Regions from separate parts of the Homo sapiens genome. Here region 2 is linked to region 1. The links are contacts of gene promoters, found by promoter capture Hi-C in human tissues and cell types (Jung and others, 2019). All regions are on one chromosome and are shown on one strand. Each heading gives the region's core, a stretch centred on a gene start or on the middle of the fragment in contact. The rest is flanking DNA. Distances are from core to core; before and after follow the strand shown.

The links. Contacts are between HindIII fragments. The study calls those that stand out against the background at their distance.
Region 2: a contact is called between a fragment that was not itself captured here and the fragment with the promoter of TMC7 in region 1, in 2 of the 25 tissues and cell types used here (heart left ventricle and small bowel).

What each region holds. Positions count from the first base shown.
Region 1 is chr16:18,982,171-18,986,219 of GRCh38, forward strand. It overlaps TMC7 (transmembrane channel like 7), which reads left to right and starts at 1,764. Exons shown (of 16, transcript NM_024847.4): 1 at 1,764-1,960. The coding sequence starts at 1,894. RefSeq lists a silencer at 1,675-1,734. The HindIII fragment of the contact is 36,131 bases long and covers 1-4,049 here.
Region 2 is chr16:19,099,311-19,103,359 of GRCh38, forward strand. No RefSeq gene overlaps it. Among named protein-coding and RNA genes, the nearest start is that of ITPRIPL2, 13 kb to the right of the region's middle. The HindIII fragment of the contact is 4,773 bases long and covers 1-4,049 here.

The DNA of each region.
Region 1 (4,049 bases), core at 514-3,013:
GCTGGGATTACAGGCATGAGCCACCACACCCAGTCTCCAGCCTCCTTTTTTTTTTTTTTTAAATGACCTTGACAGTTTTGAGGAATACTAATCAGGTATTCTGTAGAATGCCCCTCAGTTGAATTTGTCTGATATTTTTCTTATGACCACAGAGGTAAAGTGCCCTTCTCATCCCATCGTAGGAAGGGTGCACACCATCCTCATGGCTTAATGTTGATGTTAACTTATTTACTTATTTACTTTTTTTTTTTGAGATGGAGTCTTACTCTGTTGCCCAGGCTGGAGTGCAGTAGTGCAATCTCGACTCACTGCAACCTCCGCCTCCTGGGTTCAAGAGATTCTCCTGCCTCAGCCTCCCTAGTAGCTGGGATTACAGGCGCCCGCCACCATGCCCAGCTAATTTTTTTGTATTTTTGGTAGAGACAGGGTTTCGCCATGTTGGCCAGGCTGGTCTCGAACTCCTGACCTCAAGTGATCCACCTGCCTCGGCCTCCCAAAGTGCTGGGATTACAGGTGTGAGCCACTGATCCCGGATGATGTTAACTTTGATCATCTGTCTGAGACAGTGTTTGTCAGGTATTATCTAATATAAAACCCACCCTCACCCTCTTCCACCACCACTTCCATACTGCACTCTTTTGGAAGGATGTCGCTATGGGCAACTCACACTTAAGGAGTAGGGAGCTAAGCTCCCCATCCTTAAAGTATCTACGTAAATGATTTCAAAATCTGCACAGGAGATTTCTCTCCATTTTCCCCATTTATTTATATTTAGCAATTACTTTTCTTTTTCTTTTTTTTTCTGAGATGGAGTCTCCTTCTGTCGCCCAGGCTGGAGTGCAGTGGCGTGATCTCGGCTCACTGCAACCTCTGCCTCCTGGGTTCCAGCGATTCTCCTGCCTCAGCCTCCCTGGTAGCTGGGACTACAGGCATGCACTACCATGCCAGGCTAATTTTGTATTTTTAGTAGAGACAGGGTTTCACCGTGTTGGCCAGGATAGTCTCGAACTCCTGACCTCAGGTGATCCTCCCGCCTCGGCCTCTCAAAGTGGTGAGATTACAGGTGTGAGCCACTGCGCCTGGCAATTTTATGTTTTTAACCTGCACACGAACAGAGGTAGAGATGAAACGAGGATATAGTGCAAAACGTAAAAGACAAACACTGCACGTGGTTTTCTCTTCACTCGGCCCTCTAGCTCCCCACCCAGAGCTACCACAGGTAGCCAGTTTTTTGCACCCTCTAGGGAGATAGCTTAGGCATTTACAAGCATGTACAAATATATTTTTTGGTTTCCTTTTTGTTCCCAAATGGTAACTTACTAGATGCACTGATTTGGAGTCTTGGGGTTTTTTGCGTGTGGACTTTTTATTTTTTAATTTTAAAGATGGGGGTCTCACTGTGTTGGCCAGGTTGGTCTCAAACTTGTGAGTTCGTGCGGTCCTCCAGCCTCGGACTCCCAAAATGCGAGGATTACAGACGTGAGCCACCACTCCCAACCAGTTATTTTTGTTATTTATTTCTTTATTAGATCAGGTTTGATTTTAGATGCAGGGGGTCCATGTGCATGTTTGTTACATGGGTGTACCGGGTCCTGGTGGAGACTGGGCTCCCAGTGCGCCCAATCTATTGTTATTTTTTAAGCTCAGTGAGACATCAGGGAGGTCGCTGCTTGTCGCCACCGCTGGATGGAGCCTTGCCGGATCTCCCGGGCTCTGCAGCCCCTCTGCGGTCCCTGATGCTCGGCTCCTCGCGGGGGCGCCCCACTCCGGCTTCTGTGATGTCAGCGCCGGAACCTGGAATCCCGGCTCCGCGAGGGAAGGCCGGGGAGGCGGCGGCGGCGGCGGCGGCTGGAGAGGGTCCTCGGCAGCCTCTGAGGAGCGCGGGGCGCGGCCATGAGCGAGTCCAGCGGCAGTGCGCTCCAGCCCGGCAGGCCCAGCCGGCAGCCGGCGGTCCATCCAGGTAGGGCGGCAGGGAGCGCGCGCGGGGACGGTGCCCCTGGGGTCCGAGGGCGCACGGAGGGAGCCGGGTGCTGGAGGCTCGGCCTGGCCGCTGTTCCCTCCCACCCCCGACGCCGGGTGCTCCCGGCTCTGGGGAACAGCAGGTGGGAAGGAGATCTTCCTTATTCCTGCTCCCTCCACAAACGCGTCCTCATCCAATCCAGTGGAACCCAGCCGGGCCAAAAGGACACGAGAACTGCAGTCTGGACCGTGGTGGGTTTGTCTTCCAGCTGTTGACCGAGACAGTCTTTCAATAGCCTCATCTGCTGTTAAATGAAAGGATTTGAGCACCCCCTCCACGCCTAACATTCTGGTATGAGGTGCCTGCCTCCCGGACATTTCAGCCTTCACATACAGTTAGACCAACTTGAAACCGAATTCTGCCTTGTCTGTTTATTGCTGTGGGACCTTTGGTAAGTGGCTTGCCTTCTCTGAGCCTCAGATCCTTCAGCAGTAAAATGGGAATAGAATGGGGCGGGGATTAGCTGAGAATCGTGTGATGTGTCTAGCACAGTGCCTGGCATTGTGGCTAGACAGTCACAATAAATGGTAGCCAGCCAAGTATTATAATCTTTTGTATCGGGTAGAATTACAGTAAAGTATACAGCTCCATGAATTTCTACAGAAATATGTACAACGGCTGCCCAGTCAGGATAAAAAAGTTGCCAGCACTCAGGCAGGGTTCCTTGTAGCATTTGGAGCTTACGAATCTTGTCCTGAACAAAACACAAGACCCTGCTGTAAAGTTTTATCTGCAATGTTTTCTCTTTTTCAGTTTTAGAATAGAGATTTACTGAAACCAAGGATGTAGGGCCGGGCGTGGTGGCTCACGCCTGTAATCCCAGCACTTTGGGAGGCTGAGGCGGGTGGATCACGAGGTCAGGAGTTCAAGACCAGCCTGGCCAAGATGGTGAAACCCCATCTCTACTGAAGATACAAAAATTAGCCAGGAGTGGTGGTGGGTGCTTGTAATCCCAGCTACTTGGGAGGCTGAGGCAGAGAATAGCTTGAACCCGGGAGGCGGAGGTTGCAGTGAGCCGAGATTGCGCCACTGCACTCCAGCCTGGGCGACAGACCAAGACTGTTTCAAAAAAAAAAAAAGAAACCAAGGATATAGAATAAAACATGAGTGTAGATTTGGTCATTGAGGCCTTCAAATTGGATTGTTCCCAATGTCCAGAAGAAAAAAAAAATTTAGAAGAGACCCAAATCAGAAAACAAAAGTTGGGGTGGATTCAATGCGAATTATTTTCTAGCTCAATATTAATACTGCTTATGTCAGCTGAATTTCAGCCTTTCAATAACAGCTAGTCAAGTATTTTTTTAGTTGGTTCCTATTAATAGTCATCTTATTTTAGTGGAATCCATTATATTGAAGATGTCAAGTTCCTCATTTCCCATACAAAGAATGTGAGATTCATCTTTCTTGCATCTTTGCTAAGTGTATGAGGGGACTTTTGGCATCTTTTCAGGAGGACTATAATTGGGCCCTCTAACTAAAAAGTCTTCTATGCCCCTTAGATAGATGAGTTTTTTTTTTTTTTTTTTGATCTTGTACCCACCAACATTGGTGGGAGGCTCAGAAGGGACTGTGTTTGTAACTTTGTAGCACTTTCTAAACAGTGACCTGTTGTATGGGCATTATAGGACAGTCCGTGGGGTGGGGCGGGGGATGGGGGAGGCGACAAATGAGGTCTGGTTTAAAGAATGAGAAGTGTGACCAGGCATGGTGACTCATGCCTGTAATCCAGCACTTTGGGATGCTGAGGCAGGAGGATCACTTGAGCCCAGGAGTTTGAGGTTACAGTAAGCTATGATTATGACACTGGGCTCCAGCCTGGGTGACAGAACTAGACCCTGTCTCTAAAAAAAAAAGAAGAGGTATGTATCCTTCTAAATGATAAAACAGATCACTCCCCTGCTTACATAAAACTTTCCGGTGGCTGGCCAGGCACAGTGGCTCACACCTGTAATCCCAGCACTTTGGGAGGCCGTGGTGGGCAGATCACGAGGTCAGGAAATCGAGACCATCCTGGCTAACGTGGTGAAAT
Region 2 (4,049 bases), core at 939-3,438, 120 kb after region 1:
GATGCACCCATGTGCCAAGAAATCAGGTCTCAGTAAGTAGGTGACAGAATTTGCCACTGTGCCTATCTAGAGAGCAGGAAATATGATGGTTCAGGGCTTCTCTGCTGTGTTTCCATCCACTGCTGCAGAGTCTTTTCTTCCTTCTCCACCAGAAATATGCAAACGTCAAGTGATCCTTTCTTTAGGCATCAAAACACACAGGATCCTCTTGGCTTTGGGAATATAAAAGAGTCATTCTTTTTCTCCTTAGGATGAAACTGATGGAGGATTACTTGCAATAAAGGGAATCCTGGACGGGACATGGTTCTGTTCCTGCTGGTTGGGAGGTCGTGACAACTATGTCTATGGACACATAGTCACAGGTTGTGTGTGGCTGGGCTATAGTTTAGGGACATCTGTCTAACCATCCATGTATTTAGTAATGACTTAGTGACTTCTGGTGTGTTGATGCAGGTTTTTCTTTCCCTCAATGTTTTAGATTTCATGAAGCATTAAAATTAATTCAACAATTATTTATATATTGAGTGACTATCTATGCCAGGCACTGGATAGGTAACAAGGAACAAAGCAGACAAAAGCCCTGTCCACATTTTTGAGTGGCAGAAGGTAAAGTATTTGAGGGATTAACCTAGAATTGCCAACTTTTCATTTTACTAAGTTAGGACTTAAGGAGAGAAGAGAAGCTGCTTTGACTGTCATTAGTATCAGTTTTCCCCTAGAAGAAAATGGTTATTTTCATGTCCAACAGAGTGGAAGTATATATTCTTATTTTTTTTAGTGGCTTAAAACAATAAACATTTATTATCTCACGCAGTTTTTGTGGGTCAGAAGCCTAGAAGCAGCTTCACTGAGTGGCTCTAGCTCAAGATCTCTCATGAAGTTGCAGTCAAGATCTCAGCTGAGGCTGCATTATCTGAAGGCTTGACTGAGGCTGGCAGAAGTGATTCCAGTATGGCTCAGCACACACCGAGCACGTTAGTGCTGATTGTTGGCAGGCAGCTTCAGTTTTTCAGCATGTGGGCCTCCTCACAGGGGTCCTTGAGTGCCCTCACAACAGGACAGCTGTCTTCTTCTGGAGCAAATTATCCAAAAAGAACAGATTTTTGAAATAACTATACTGAAACCACATCCCATACAGATTTAAATTATTGGGATTCAGCTACCCAAACAAAAATGCTCTGGGGTGGGAAGAGAATGCTTTATTTTATGTATGTGTGTATGTATGTATGTATGTATAGATAGATAGATTCTCACTCTGTCATCCAGGCTTGAGTGCAGTGGTGCAATCACAGCTCACTGCAGCCTCAACCTCCTGGGCTCAAGGGATCCTCCCACCTCAGCCTCCTGAGTAGCTGGGATTCCAGGCACACACCACTGCACCCAGCTAATTTTTGTATTTTTTTGTAGAGACAGGTTCTGCCATGTTGCTTAGGTTGGTCTCAAACTCCTGAGCTCAAGTGATCTTCCTGCCTTGGCCTCCCAAAGTGATGGGATTACAGGCTTGAGCCACCACACCCAGCCGCAAACGCTTTGAATAGTGTTGGCAATCTCCCTCATCTTTTTACTGATGTAAAGGGATCATGTCCCTCAATATTTGCTTTTTTTTCTTTTTTATGCTAATGAAACACTTACATTTAGCAGGACACATGGAATCCAGGATAGACTACATTTCCCAGTCTCCATTGCTGGTCTGACATTATCTTACATTGTGAGCATCACACTTTGCTGAGTGTTTAAAGGTATATATTATTCACACAACTTGGCTCCTAAACTCAAACCAACTTCTTCATCAAATGCTCAACTGATCATTCTCCCTTAACATTATATTTACATTTTTCCCCAAACAGAGAGAAATGGAAGGAACTGTGTAGTGAACACCCATATACCCACAACCTAGATTCTACCATTAACGTTGAACTCAACTGGCCTTATCTCATGTCGATTCCTTTATCCACCCCCTCTCCACTCATCAATTCATCTTATTTTTTGATGCATGTTAAAAGCAATTGTTGAGGTCAGTATACTTCACCCGTAACCCCTTCAGCATGCACATCACTCGCTAGAATCCAATACGTGTTTATGATTTTTTGAGATCAAATCTAGATACCGTGAAACACACAAGTCTAAAGTGGACCATTCAATAAGTTTTGACAAATTGTAATTCAAACTCCTACACTGATAGAACAAAGGTAATTTGAAGTAAATACACATTTTATTTTCTATGTGCTGACTTAGAAATGTCCCTGACCTGTAAGATGAGACTCCACTGTAAATTGAGCTTTACAAAAAAAAAAATCCCATCATATGTCTTATTTTGTTCCTCTTGCCTCAAACCATGGAAAAAAAGCATCAGACATTTATTTGGAAAAACTTTCTTGAAGCAGTGTTTAGGGTGATTAAAGGTATAATGTAGGAAGCATAGGTTTGAATCTGGCTGCCTGATCTCATACAATGTATGTATCCTGGCTATGCCTTAGTTTCCCTGTCTGCAAAATGGGGATAAAGATAGAACCTACGGCCAGCAAGGTGGCTCATGCCTATAATCCCAGCACTTTGAGAGGCAAGGTAGGAGGATCACTTGAGTTCAGGAGTTTGAGACCAGTCTGAGCAACAGCGTGAGGCCTCTTCTCTTTAAAAAATTAAAAAATTAGTGGGGAGTGGTGGTGCATGTCCATAAAGTTGTTCTTTTTTTTTTTTTTTTTTTTTTGAGATAGAGTCTCGCTCTGTTGCCCAGGGTGGAGTGCAGTGGTGTGATGTCAGCTCACTGCAACCTGCACCTCCCAGTTCAAGTGATTCTCCTGCCTCAGTCTCCTGAATAGCTGGGATTACAGGCGCACGCCACAATGCCTGGCTAATTTTTGTATATTTAGTAGAGATGGGGTTTCACCATGTTAGTCAGGCTGGTCTTGAACTCCCGGCCTCGTGATCTGCCCGCCTAGGCCTCCCAAAGTGCTGGGATTACGTGTGAGCCACCGCACCTGGCCCATAACGTTGTTCTTTGCCGGGAGGGCTGAATGAGTTAAATCAAGTGCCTAATTAGAACACTGCCTGTCCCCTAGTAAATGTTCAAGACAGCTGGCTCTCATCACCACAATGCTAGCAGGAGACCAGGAAGAGGGGGTCTTGTGTTTGACATGTTAACTTTGTAGACAACGGCTTTCTGCCCTCGGTAGCTTTATGTCCTACTCACATCTGAGTTTCTTTGGTCCCGTTGGCCCTCCAGGCAGAAATTTAATGACTGTCAAAATTCTCACCATGACATCACCAGACAATGTCAGCGGGAAGTCGGCGTCCATAAAATGACTCGAACTAGAAGAACTGGACCAGGTGGGGGATCGGGTTCTCAGTCTTTAATTGTGTTGGCTTTATAGTGTAAATCTCATGGCCTTGGAGTTAATATCGTACCAGTTTATTGGCACCAAATTGCATTACAGACTCATTAGCTCTCTCATGGCCCTTCATCTCTGCCACACCAAAGCTTTCCTTTGACTGATGTTGGTTTCATTATTCATGACTCTTATAGAGACAGTGGCCTCTAAAATAGAGACCAGGGAAGAGCATTTTTCTTTCTTTCTTTTCTTTTCATTTTTTTTTTTTCAGACAGAGTTTAACTCTCATTGACCAGGCTGGAGTGCAATGGCACAATCTCCACTCACTGCAACCTCTCCCTCCTGGGTTCAAGTGATTCTCCTGCCTCAGCATCCCAAGTGGCTGGGATTACAGACATGCACCACTGCATCCAGCTAATTTTGTATTTTTAGTAGATATGGGATTTCTCCAAGTTGGTCAGGCTGGTCTCAAACTCCCGACTTCAGGTGATCCGCCCACCTTGGCCTCCCAAAGTGCTGGGATTATAGGTGTGAGGCACCGTGCCTAGCCGGAAGAGCATTTTTCTAATGAAAGGTTCTTTAGCAATCCAGGGCTACTTTGCTGGACTACTGAAATAAGATTCATTCCTTCTTTTGTTCTGTTGGTCTTATAGGTAATTGAGTACCTATAAGACAGACATGGACCCTGCTCTCAAAGCAACTTATAATATATTTGAAAAT